Regions from separate parts of the Homo sapiens genome. Here all the other regions are linked to region 1. The links are contacts of gene promoters, found by promoter capture Hi-C in blood cells and fetal thymus (Javierre and others, 2016). All regions are on one chromosome and are shown on one strand. Each heading gives the region's core, a stretch centred on a gene start or on the middle of the fragment in contact. The rest is flanking DNA. Distances are from core to core; before and after follow the strand shown. Region 1 holds the start of THBS1 (thrombospondin 1). Region 2 has its middle 25 kb from the start of FAM98B. Region 3 overlaps FAM98B (family with sequence similarity 98 member B).

Region 1 (4,087 bases), core at 815-3,314:
GTATCCATTTCAAACAAGATTAAAATTGGGGGAATGCATTTGAAATAAGCTCTTTTCTTAAGAGCCTAAGGAGTATCTAAGGCTTGAACAGGCTGACTGCTAAAGGAAAACCATTTCTTGTTTCCTTGAGTAGTTTTCAAAGTGTGCTTCCCAGACCACCGGCATCAGCATCACCTGGTACTTGTTAGAGTTGCAGTTTTACAGAATCCCAGACTCTGGGGCTGGGGTGCAGCAGGGTGAGCTTTCACAAGCCCTCCAGGTGATGCTCATGCTGCCTAAAATCTGAGAACTGCTGCGTTAGTTTACAGACAGGATTTCCTGTAGCCCTCCTGGCAGGTCACCTGTCTAGCAGATGATCCCACGGAGCAGGGCTCAGAGAAGAAGCCTCACCTGGAAATTGTCATTGACGCCCCCCTTTGCGATGCGGAGTCTGGCGATGCTGGCCAGGTCTCTGGTGAAGACGCTTTGGATGGGGACGTCCAACTCAGCATTCTCCATCTTTTCACAGTCGATGTACAGCTGGGCCCTGTCTTCCTGCACAAACAGGGTGATGCTCTTCCACTGGCCGGTTGCCAGGAGAGCTTCTTCCACAGACACCACGTGCTGCTTTCCTTGGACGGTCAGGCTGAGGTCCAGGGTGCCCGCCTTGCCATTGGACACCACGCTGAAGACCTGGCCAGAGTGGTCTTTCCGCTCCAGGGCCAGCAGCGTGCCCCGGGTCTTCTTCATCTGCCTCAGGGATGCCAGAAGGAGGAAACCCTTTTCTGCCCGCACAGCATCCACCAGGTCTTGGAACTTGTCATCAGGCACAGGGGGGATCAGGTTGGCATCCTCGATGCGGAAAGCTGGGCTGGAAGGGTCGGGGCCCTTCACCAGTCGGCGCCCAGACCCCTTGCGGGCGGCCCCGGTGAGTTCAAAGATGTCAAACACGCTGTTGTCTCCGCCAGACTCTGTTAGACAGGAGAGAACACAAAGTGAGCTTTCTAGGCTGGGACCAGCAGTAGGGGGCTGAGTCCTTAGGGGTGGAGACAAAGGGTTGGGGTGAAAACTCCTGGCAACCACTGAAAGAGGTGAATAAATACCAGGATCAGAGTGAAGCTGCGTCCTGATGTCCAGTCAGGCTCAAGAGGGAGAGGACAGCACGTGAGGGGGCACACCTGGGATAGCCAGCACCTCTTCCTTGTCCCTCCTTCCCCTAAAGGTGCCACACAAACTCACCTGGAATGCGGTTGGTGCCACACACATGCATCAGGAACAGGACGCCTAGTCCCCAGGCCAGCCCCATGGTGGAGCTGTTGGTGCCCAGCAGGGATCCTGTAGCAGGAAGCACAAGAGCCGAGGGTCAGAGATCAGCTAGGCAGGGAGGGACGGTGCGCAGAAACGGGGCTGGGCATGGGGACAGGGCCGGGACCATCCCTCTTTGACCCCGCGTTTGCTGAAATGAAGGACAACAGGATTACTTTCCAGAGAGCATGAGAGAGAGAGAGAGAGAGAGAGAGAGAGGTGGAGGAAAGAGATGCTGGTTTTAAAGTGTGGGGGGCGCAAGACCAACAATTTGGGGGCTTTTGGGAAGTCGAAGGTGAGCAAGATCAGGAACTGTAGTTTGGGGTTGCAGGGAGGGCAGGGGAAGTACAGACTCTTCCCTGGAGTGCTGATACAAAGGCTTAAGGAGGACTTCAGAGAGTAAGGAAATCTTGGGGTGTCCTGATGAGTTGGTTTGTGAACCTCAAGGCTGGAGAGGATGGCTCTGGAGCCTTGCCCTGAAGAGTCCTCCAGCGGCTGAGAGGAGCGGGCTGGGGTAGGCGAGCGGGGAGAGTGTAGGTTCCGGGGTCCACCAGAGGGACTGAAGCCTCAGCGCTCCAGGTGGATGTCCCGGGCAGCTTTGGTCCTCGGCGGCCGCCGGGGGCGACTTACCTGTGTGTACCGGAGCGCGGCGGCCGGGAGCGGTGGCGAGGGCGGCGAGGGCTGGAGGGGCGCGGGGAATGCCTGTGCGTCCGGAGTAGAGGTTGCTCCTGGAGAGCGACAGGAGCCCTGAACTCGCAGGCCAGCTCGGGCGCAGCGGCTGGCAAGGCGGAGGAGCCGCGCGCTTTTAAAGGGGCGCTCGCATTCCTGGGGATTCCTCCGGCCAATGGGCGGCGGCCGGGCAGGAAGCGGGAGGTGGGGGCCAGTCTGGGCTCCTCTCTCCGCCCCCCGCTGCCTGGCGCGCAACTTTCCAGCTAGAAAGTGAAGGGGGCGGGGGTCGGGGCTTGGGAGCACTAGAACTTCTCAGAAAAGTCGGTGCCCGCCCACGCAGCCTTGGCGCGCACGGGCTCGGCGCTCGTACTCTTGCGCCACGCGGGCTCGGGGTGATCAGCAAGCATCCCGAAAAGGGACGGGGCTGGGGAGACCACCTAGGAGGGCCCGCGGGGTGGCGCAGGGGCTTTCGGGCGAGCTGATCTCCCGGAATGCCTGGTTGATGGCGAGAGGTGGATACTAGAGACTGGGCCCGTTTTGTAAAAAGAAAAATGGGCCGACGGGGCGCAGGGGACACCAAGAGAGCCATTCGTTAAAGTACCTGCCCCTCGGGCCCTCGCTGACTCTCCTCCACCGTCCCCGTGGGGTGAGGACACGCGTCCCCCGAGCGCCTGTCCTGAGCTGGCCCCACGCCCGCCCCGGAGGGAGGTGAGCGCGGCGTCGGCGGGGCCGGCAGGTTGGTGCGCCGCGTTCGCCTTCGCTGCCTTCGGGCCCTTTCCTGCCGCGGCTGCCAGGGGGCCCACAGAGACGCCTCTCCCGCTGCCGCGGCGCTCCCTCGGCCGGCCGCTTGGGGGCGGTGTGCGTATTCTCATCAAGGGGCCCGGGGAGGACAGCTGCTTTCTACTCGAATTTTAAGGAAACTTACTCGTATCCAGTTTCCACAAGCCAAATTGAAATTGTGTCTTGAAAAACAGTTTTTGTGCCCACTCGTGCTTCTTAACGTGACTCCTGTTTGGAGAATTTGCAGAACCATCTGGCTCCAGAGTCTTCAGCTATTTACAGAGCAGACCCATAGAGTAATAAATTACTCTCTGCCTATTATTGTATTTCCCTTTTTCCTCCCTAAACGTTCTTTTCATTTTTCGGCTCCTGAACCCGAGGTGTGGGTTACATTTCTGTGGGTGCACACATTGCCATGAGTGCCGCTGCCTAGTGCTTCTGTCATTGAAGTCTGGTCTCCAAGCCACTGTCCCAAGCCAGCATGACTCTAGCTTCCTGGAATTCCATTCATCTCTTCGGGATGGGACGTCAGCCGCCTCGCTCCCTCTGCTGTGATCCAGCGCTATCGGGCTCGCTCCGAGGCCAGGGCATAGGTAGAAGCTTGACCAAATAAGGATCTCAGCACGGGCAGGGGGAAACCCCTGGGGTTCACCTCCCATCTTAGCACTTAAACCTGGCAGGACTCCCGACTGCTGCAAACAGCCAAGTGTTTACATTCATCAAACAGCAGTTTCGCTTTTCTTGCGTGGGAGTGTTGTATGACAAGATGGTGTGTGTGTGTGTGTGTGTGTGTGTGTATTACGGAAAGAGTGTTTTCTAGTTACTCAATATGTATATAAAATGCCTCTAAAAGATGACCGGTATGTTCCTAAGGCACATGTTTGTTGGATTTCAGATGTTGGGAGGCAGAAAGAAAAGTTTCTACTGGTTGATGAATAAAATCAGATTCTTGTCCCGCAAATCATAGGTAATGATTCATCCAAGCAGATCTGAAGATTCTGGAATCGGCACCCATCCATCTCCCTCCCCTTCCTTCTCCTTCTACAGCATTCATCTTGCTCTTCGAAAAGTAATTGGGTTTTTTTTTTCTTCTTTCCACTTGCTCCATGATACTGGACAGTCAGAAATAGTTCTTGGAGGGATGGGCCGCTCATGGCTCTGGGCTCCTCTGGCCCACTGGATCATTGTGTACAAATCAGATGGGGGCTTGAGGGCTGCAAGAGGCCCACAAAAGCAGAATGCATCTTGTATGAAAAGATTATCTCCCCTAGGCTTAGCTGTGCAGACAGAGTAGAAACCAGCACTCACTGCCCCTTCAGGATTCATGCTGCCATGGCTGAGGGATTGTAGGAAT
Region 2 (4,087 bases), core at 1,150-3,649, 1.2 Mb after region 1:
TTTTAATCAGTATAATCAGTACTTTTCTAACAGCAAAGATCAACTGTATTTTTCCCTAGCCTCCACCCCAAAACTCAAACAAAAATGCATTGCAGTGGCTCACAATGGAAGCCATGCCATTACACTCATATCCTCAGGTTCCACATCTGGGGATTCAACCAACCTCAGATTGAACACATTAGAAAAAAAAATTCACAATATCACAATAAAAATACAGTATAACAACTATTTACACAGCATTTACATTGTATTAGGTATCATAAGTAATCTAGAGATAATTTTAAGTATTTGGCATCCAAGGTGGGGTGAGGTAGGTGACATAGAACAAATTCCTCACATACCGAAGGACGACTGTACTCAGATTGCCCTACAGGACAAAACTTCTATTTTTCAATCCCCAGTTAAAGTTACTATGGATTGAACTCAACCCTTTCACAGAATACTTTTCTCAGTAAATTTCAGCTTTAGTTGAATCCAATTAAGTTGAATTGAGTTTACTCCAAATGTAAAATTACTGAAAATACGTATGGTATGTCTTGAGAGCAAGAAATGAGTTCCAGAAAGAATCCCTGAATGTATACCACTACATAAATACATGATAGATATCACTGGATACATATAAAGACAGAGAGAGAGAAAGGGAAAAGGAAAGAGAGAAAGAGACAGGGGGAGGAATCATTATTTGTGACAGTTTTAAAACATGTTCATAAATTCTTTGGCACTTCCTCCATGGACAGGTAGGGCCCATGTACCTTCCCCTCAAATGTGGGAAGGCATGTGACTGGTAGCCCACTAGAGCACAGTGGAAGTGATGCTGTACTGCAGGCTAAGTATCAAAGGCAACACTCTTCCCAAGTGGTCCTTTTGAGACACTGGCCTTTGGTGCTCTGATCTGCCATGTAAGAAAATTCTGAGGCCATGATACTAGCGGGAAGTACAATCCCCCTGAATGGGTCCTAGGTAGGTGTTCTGGCCTACAGCTACAACTGATGTCCCAGCACACAGCAAGCATCGACTGCCAGACATGTGAAAGACAAAACCTCCAGCTGACATTTGCTCCCAGCCATCATCACTCCCAGTGTTTGTGTCATTGTCAGCTGAGGTCCCAGATATACCAAAAGGAGATAAGCCATCCCCACTGTATCCTTTCTGAATTCTTGACCCAAAGAATCCACGAGGTTGGTGAAATAGTTATTTGAAGTTGGCAAATAGGTTTGTTAAGCAGCACAGATAACATGAACTTAATGGTATAGAAATAAGCTTCTAAAGAGAAGAAATTCAAACAGATAAGTTTACATTGGGCTACAAGCAGTCACTATCTTGATCTGTCATATTTCCATTTCCATCTTATCTTTAAATTTTTTTTTTGAGATAAGGTCTTGCTCTACCACCCAGGCTGTGTGTGTGTGCATACATATTCAATGGCGGAGAGCAGGGTGCATTTCACAGTACCTACCATGCCATGCTTTAATGTAGAAGAATTACCATTCAAACCCACATCATGGCTCACTGCAGCCTCAACGTCCCAGGCTCATGTGATCCTCCCACCTCAGCCTCCTGATTAGTTGGGAGTACAGGCACACACACCACATCTGGCTAATTTTTGTATGTTTTTGTAGAAATGAGGTCTCACCATGTTGCTCAGGCTGGTCTTGAACTCATGGGCCCGAGTGATCTTCCTGCCTCAGCCTCCCAAAGTGTTGGGATTACAGACATGATCCACTGTGCCCAGCCTCCATTTTACCTTTAATACCTATTTTTTCCACATTCCTATTTATATTAGTTTTGTGTTGAAAATTAATTATGTAGAGTCAGAACTCTTTCAGGACTAATGCAATGTTTGTTTTTGTGTGATGCTAGATATTAAAAGGAGGATGTCCCTGGTGACACAATGTCAAAATTATTCTGATCCATTTGGAACATTTCCAGTGAAAATGAACAGGCGCTGCTTAAGGAAGTCAAGGACACAGGAAAAAAATATGATCAGAAAACATCCTCTAGGGACTAATTTAGGGTAAAAGCAATATATAGCAGCTCATTTCTCCTCTTTCCCTGTTAAAGCTTAATTAGCCAAAGACCACTGGGCACAATGTATAATCTGACAAAATCAGATGTATTGATTTTCAGTGAGGGAGCACATGGCAGAAGCACTGTGGCAGACCACTCAACAAGAAGGAGCAGGAAACGTCTTCTGTACAGTGTGTGTTTCACTGAAGGATTTTGAGCAGGATCCAGGAACTGAACATCGGTTCTGGATTGGAGGCTGCTTCTGAAGTAGGATTAGGAAAGTGGGGATTAACTAGGGATTAGGATTGCCACGGGGTGTCCCCTGTAATACATGGATGTAGCAGAATAGTTCCAGGGACATCATCAATAAGAAAGCAGTGGTCACTCATAGAGCAGGTCTCTATGGTATTGGAAAGAGATGCTCTCTGTTCTCTGGGATCTCCCATTGTAAGGACTTGAACTTGGAGTTATTCCATCATCGCGTGGAAAGAATTTGCCTGAGAATTAAATCAACATGGATTAAAGCAGAGCTGGGGCACACTGGAACCCCTCAATCTAGCTCTGCCTAAAAAATCCATCTCTTGAATTGCCCATCACAGAGGCTAATACGCTCCTGTTTTTTAAAGCTACTTTGTTCAAGCTACTTTTAGGAGTTACTCTTGACTAATACAAGCCTGATAACGTTTTCTGAGGTTAAGATGCTCTCACCTGAACTCCAAAGATAAGCTTGTGTGTGTGTGTGTGTGTGTGTGTGTGTGTTTGTATGTGTGTGTGTGTGTGTGTGTGCATACATATTCAATGGGGGAGAGCAGGGTGCATTTCACAGTACCTACTATGCCATGCTTTGATGTAGAAGAATTACCATTCAAACCCCCATACTCTTGACATTTATATGAGGTTATATTTCTAAGTAACTAATAAATAACATCTAATATTCAATAAATTGACTTCTGTTTGTTGAATGCATATTTTGTACAAGGTGCTGAACTATATACCCTGAGGGGAAAATAAATAATAATCCAATATCATCCTGTTTTCAAAGCTATAGTTACTAGTTATAGTCAAGGCCAAAAGTAACATAGGCAGTCAGTCTTAATAGCACCTCAGAGGCAGGAGAGGCCATTACAGACCAGCAGCAGTGGAGAAAACTCTTCCACCAAGGCACAGGAAGGGAGTGGGGCTTTGACTGAAGAGTAAAATTTCAACCTGGGTGAGAAAGAAGACATTCCAGAAAGGGGTTAAGGTAAGGAAGTTGAAAACAATTATGGAAAGAGTAACCAGGACAGCTCGGGCCAGGAGAAGACCTCCAAAAGGGAGAGGAATGGAATATAAGTTTGGAAATGTAGATTGAGACCAGTCTTGAAACACCAGACCTCCAGATTTCTATTTTATCTGGTAGGAACTAAAGTGCCAATGCAGATTTCTGATTAGAGGAATATCAAGACAAAAAGAGGTTTTTAGTCAGGCATGGTGGCTTGTGGTTGTAATTCCAGCTACTCAGGTACTCAGGAGGCTGAGGTGGGAGGATTGCTTGAGGCCAGAAGTTTGTGACCAGCCTGGGTTATATAGCTAGAGCCAGTCTCAAAAGAGATGAAGAGAGAGAGAGACGAGAGAGAGAGATTTTCAGGAAAATATATTTGGCAATTCAATGTTTCTGACTGGAGAAGAGAATGGAGAATGCTGGATCCTGCTGCTATTCTTTACACAAAAGGTGACAGAAGTGTGAGTGAGCCTCTCAGCCAAAGGCAGGATGCAGCTAACCTCACCCCTACCTCTACATCCCATACCACCACCTGCTGGAGTAATTCAGGTTGATCCTCTTGTTGGCCTCACAGTTTACAGATCAGGCTAACATTTCTTTGAGCAAAGATTTCTCATTCAACAATCATTTTTTGAGAACTGCTGCTGCAAGGAATCATTCCAGTTGTATTTTGGGTCCTAGCTTTTCCATGTTATTTAATTAAGAATGCAAAAACACAGGGGTTTGACTGACTTCACTCACAGCTGGCCCAGAAGCAGGGATGTCAGAACCACCTGGAGGGCTTTCTAGACAGGCACTTCCAGGCTCCATCCTCAGAGA
Region 3 (4,087 bases), core at 1,024-3,523, 1.1 Mb after region 1:
ATCCAAAAAACAGCCTTTCTTGGTTATTATTCTCACTGGTCTCTCTACCAAACATGGTATGTTGGTGGGCATATGGAGATGCCAGAACTGATCATAAGACTACCCTCAAATAATGAGACCATAAATTATAAACTCAGAAGAGATGGCCAATGTTACTTACAGAAATAGAACTCTTGATCCAGCAAGACTAAATTATCACCCAATGCAAGATGTTAGGTAATATATTTAAAGAGAGAACACTTTCAGAACATAGGATTGAGCCACAGTGGAAGCACAGAGGCAAACACTGGTGATGCCTAACTTAGCAATAGTTAGCAAAATGACTTTAAAAACAACCATCCCTCTGAAAAGGTATTTTATCTCAAGTTACACTGAGTGAGAAGCGATGCTTTAAAATTATCCAAATCCCTTATTTCTGATTTTTTGCTCTTTTGTAATAAAGTTTGCCATGGAGTGCTCTACCTAAATGAAGAGGACATGCCAGTTAAGCTGACATAAACATACTAAATTACTTTATTGTTATTGCTGTTGTAAAGTGAAAAATTCAGACTCCTTGAGCTTGTTTAAATAGACTACTGTCAGAGAAATGGATGTATACTCCAAATCAGGAAACAGAAGCTCAAAGAAGTTCAGTAGCTTGCTCAGGGTCATTTCTGTAAGTAAATGACAGAGCCAGGATGGGAACCCAGATTGGTCTGACTCTAAAGCACAAACTCTTCTTCCCTTTACACCAAGGATATAACGAATCTGTCAGTACTTGAAACAATTCCGAAAGATTCTTACTGACAAAAAATGATTACTTTTTAGAAAGATGGAACATAATTCTTGCTAAAGCTTTGACAAAAACAATTCATAATTCCTCTAATTCAGAAAATACTTTGATTTATGAATACACAAATTCAAGTGAACATACACACATACACAAAAATAACATAACTAAGCCTAGACTGAACCCCCCTGCCACTCTTTTTTCTAAACATTTACCAGGACATGAAAGAAAAATAGACTAAAATCTGTAAAAACATTAAGTAAGATATCATCAATTCATTTTCCACTGTACTGAAAGAAACACCAACCTTATTAATGGCACATGCGGTCTTCTCCCGGCTGGTGCCACTACTTGTCCTAATGATCTTGGATAGATCTTCACGAGCAGCAAGTAGATGTGCCATTGTAATCGTTGTCTTGGGTGACAAAGCATAACGCTTAGGCTGATAAATTCTTGCTATATCATCTGTTTTTACCTAAATGACAAGAGTTAAGGAAAAAAGGAACAAAAGTACATTTTAATGAAAGAGCAAAAACAATCATAATCTTTAGAAATAAAGAAAAGGAGATAATGCATAAGCAAGGAGTTAGAAAAGAGCAAAAACACCCAAATATCTGAGAATTTATGAATAATTTAGAACAAATAAAATAGACCAACAGGTGTTAAAAATATGTAACTACCAGCAACAACTCGCTAAAAAATAATAACAAAAAAATTTCTATACATATTAACAAAAAATACCTAAAAAATAGTTTTACCAAAACCACATACAGGACATTTAAAAGGGAAACATCAGTAAATCTTGCAAAAACAAAAGGAAAACTTGTATAAATGGTAAGAAATACCAAGTTTCTGTATGGGAACATTAAGTATTATTGTCAGTTTTCCCCCAAATTAACTTATAATCCTATATAAATAGTTTTTGAGAGAATGAAAAAAAAATCTAAAGTTAAATCCAGAAACTCAATATGTAAGAATAACTAAAAGCATTTTGAAATATAATCCTACCAAATACTAATATGCTATAATACAAAATTATCATCATCTTATCAGTTAACATTTAATGAGAACTTATTAAATGTGCCAGGATGCTGTTCACTTAGTAAGGCATTATTTCTTTAATCCTCAAAATATCCTTTTAGAGTGGTTGGTTTTTATTATCCCCTTTTGCAGATGGAAAAAAAAAATGAGGCATAGAAAGCTTAAGTTAGTTTCCCCAAAATATAGAGAGAATCCTAGCTCTGCCCACTTAGCAACAAAGGTCTACCTGACCCCCAAGCACAGGTCTAGTATAGATAACAGTTTGCTATCCTACCTCCATCTAATTAACTAGAACTTGGGAGAAAAAAACATAGATTGATGAAATAGTATATTGAGACTCAGAGCCTCATAAATCTATGAATGCAATAAATGATAAAGGAGACATCACAGATCAACGAGAAAAGGAAAGGATTATCTTTTAAATGGTGCTGGAATGACCTGGTGGCTATCTGTAATAATAACAATAATACAGCACACCATATAACAAAGGGAATTCCAAAGAGAACAAAAAGTTAACTGTTTGAGGTTTAATTTTCAATTTAAAAACAACTACATTATAAAAATTAAAATTTCTGTACTTTAAAAGATATAAAACAACATCTAATGACAACTGGGGAAAATATTTTCAACAAATAATTCAACCAGCAAACTTCCTTTCTATATAAAAACCTCAAACACAAAAAGAAAACAGAATTTTACAGGAAAAAAAAATGACAAGACATAAATAGAAGTTAAAAAGAGGAAATTCAAATGACTAATAAGCTTATGAAAACAGTTCAACTTTGTCAATAATAAGAACAGACAAAACAAGTTAGTCTTTTTAACATCAAGTTAGCAATAAAGAGGCTAAAGTGACACAACATTTCATTTACCTTACTGGAAGGAGTTTAAATTCATATAAACTTAAGTGGAAAACAATTTGGCCATGGGAAGCGAGAGCATTAAGAGACAAAACCTTTGACACAGTAAATTTCCTTTAAGGAATCCACCATAAAATTTTACTCTGAAATTTATATATAAAAATTAAACACAGAAACATGCCTGGTATTGTTAATATAGAAAAAAATGTATAAAATAAGAGAAGTAAACTATTGAATCACTAAATGATAAAATATAATGCAGCCATAAGAAGGATACTGAAAGAAATTTAGTACTGTTACATGCTATGACATGAATAAACCTTGGAAACATTATGCTAAATCAAAGCCAGATGCAGAAGCCACATATTGTATGATTCCATTTATATGAAATGTCCAGATAGGCAAATCCATGGAAATGTAAAGTATATTATAGTAATGGTTGCCAGGGCATGGAGGTAGGGAATATTGGGAATGACTGCTGAGAGGTAGCTATGTCATTTTGGGATGATGGAAGTGTTATGGAATTACATATAGGGTTACACAACACAGTGAACAGACTAAAAACCACTGAATTGTACACTTTAAAATGGTATATTTTGGCCAGGCACAGTGGCTCATTCCTGTAATCTCAGCACTTTGGGAGGCTGAAGTGGGAGCATTACTTGAGGCCAGGAGTTTGAGACCAGCCTGGGCAACATGGCAAAACCCTGTCTCTATAAAAAATAAAACAAAATTTTTAATTAGCCAGGTGTGGTGGCACACGTCTGTAGTCCCAGCTGCCTGAGCGAAGGCCACAGTGGGAGGATCACTTGACCCTCCAGTGAGTTGCAGTGAGCTATGATGATGGCACTGCACTCCAGCCTGGGCAACAACAAGACTACAACTCAAAAATAAAAATAAAATGGTAAATTTTATGTTAATTATATCTCAAAAAAATTAAGAGTTAATTTTAAAAAGGGTACTAAAATAGAGTTTTTAGAGATATTGGAAAATGGTTACAATATATTTAGTGAAAAAGCAAGCTATAAAATTACATTCACAATATTATCTCAATACTAGTAAAACAGTGAAGAAAAGAAACTACATAACCTTTCTAATAAATGACTATAATCTGTTTGAAGGGCAACTCTGGAGTATGCATCAACAGCCTTAAAATCATTTCCCTTAATCAAATAGTTCACTTTTAGGAATACATCATGGACATGAACAAAAATTTAGCTGTCAAGGATTTTATTACAGGGTCAAAGAGGCAAAATTAGAGAAAACCTCAGTGTCTATGAATACAGTATATATATGCATATAATAAAATACTGTGCAAAGATTTAAACTGCTGTAGAACAAAGTTGATGACAGTCACTCAACAATATCAGACGTATTTTTCTATCACGAAAATAGGGAGAAAATGATAAAGATATAA

What was found. Contacts are between HindIII fragments. The CHiCAGO score rates a contact against its expected background, and 5 or more counts as called.
Region 2: a fragment that was not itself captured here is called in contact with the fragment with the promoter of THBS1 in region 1 in 2 of 17 cell types (activated CD4 T cells and total CD4 T cells); the score reaches 8.3 in activated CD4 T cells.
Region 3: a fragment that was not itself captured here is called in contact with the fragment with the promoter of THBS1 in region 1 in 1 of 17 cell types (total CD8 T cells); the score reaches 6.1 in total CD8 T cells.

What each region holds. Positions count from the first base shown.
Region 1 is chr15:39,579,056-39,583,142 of GRCh38, reverse strand. It overlaps THBS1 (thrombospondin 1), which reads right to left and starts at 2,064. Exons shown (of 22, transcript NM_003246.4): 1 at 1,915-2,064; 2 at 1,219-1,314; 3 at 391-950. The coding sequence starts at 1,285. It overlaps LOC124903470, which reads right to left and starts at 3,336. Exons shown (of 1, transcript XM_047433405.1): 1 at 2,149-3,336. The coding sequence starts at 2,825. The coding sequence ends at 2,391. RefSeq lists silencers at 2,524-2,573, 2,584-2,813 and an enhancer at 2,236-2,973. The HindIII fragment of the contact is 3,699 bases long and covers 1-3,335 here.
Region 2 is chr15:38,427,281-38,431,367 of GRCh38, reverse strand. No RefSeq gene overlaps it. Among named protein-coding and RNA genes, the nearest start is that of FAM98B, 25 kb to the left of the region's middle. The HindIII fragment of the contact is 672 bases long and covers 2,064-2,735 here.
Region 3 is chr15:38,478,449-38,482,535 of GRCh38, reverse strand. FAM98B (family with sequence similarity 98 member B) reads right to left here. Exons shown (of 8, transcript NM_173611.4): 7 at 1,077-1,244. Among named protein-coding and RNA genes, the nearest start is that of FAM98B, 26 kb to the right of the region's middle. The HindIII fragment of the contact is 602 bases long and covers 1,973-2,574 here.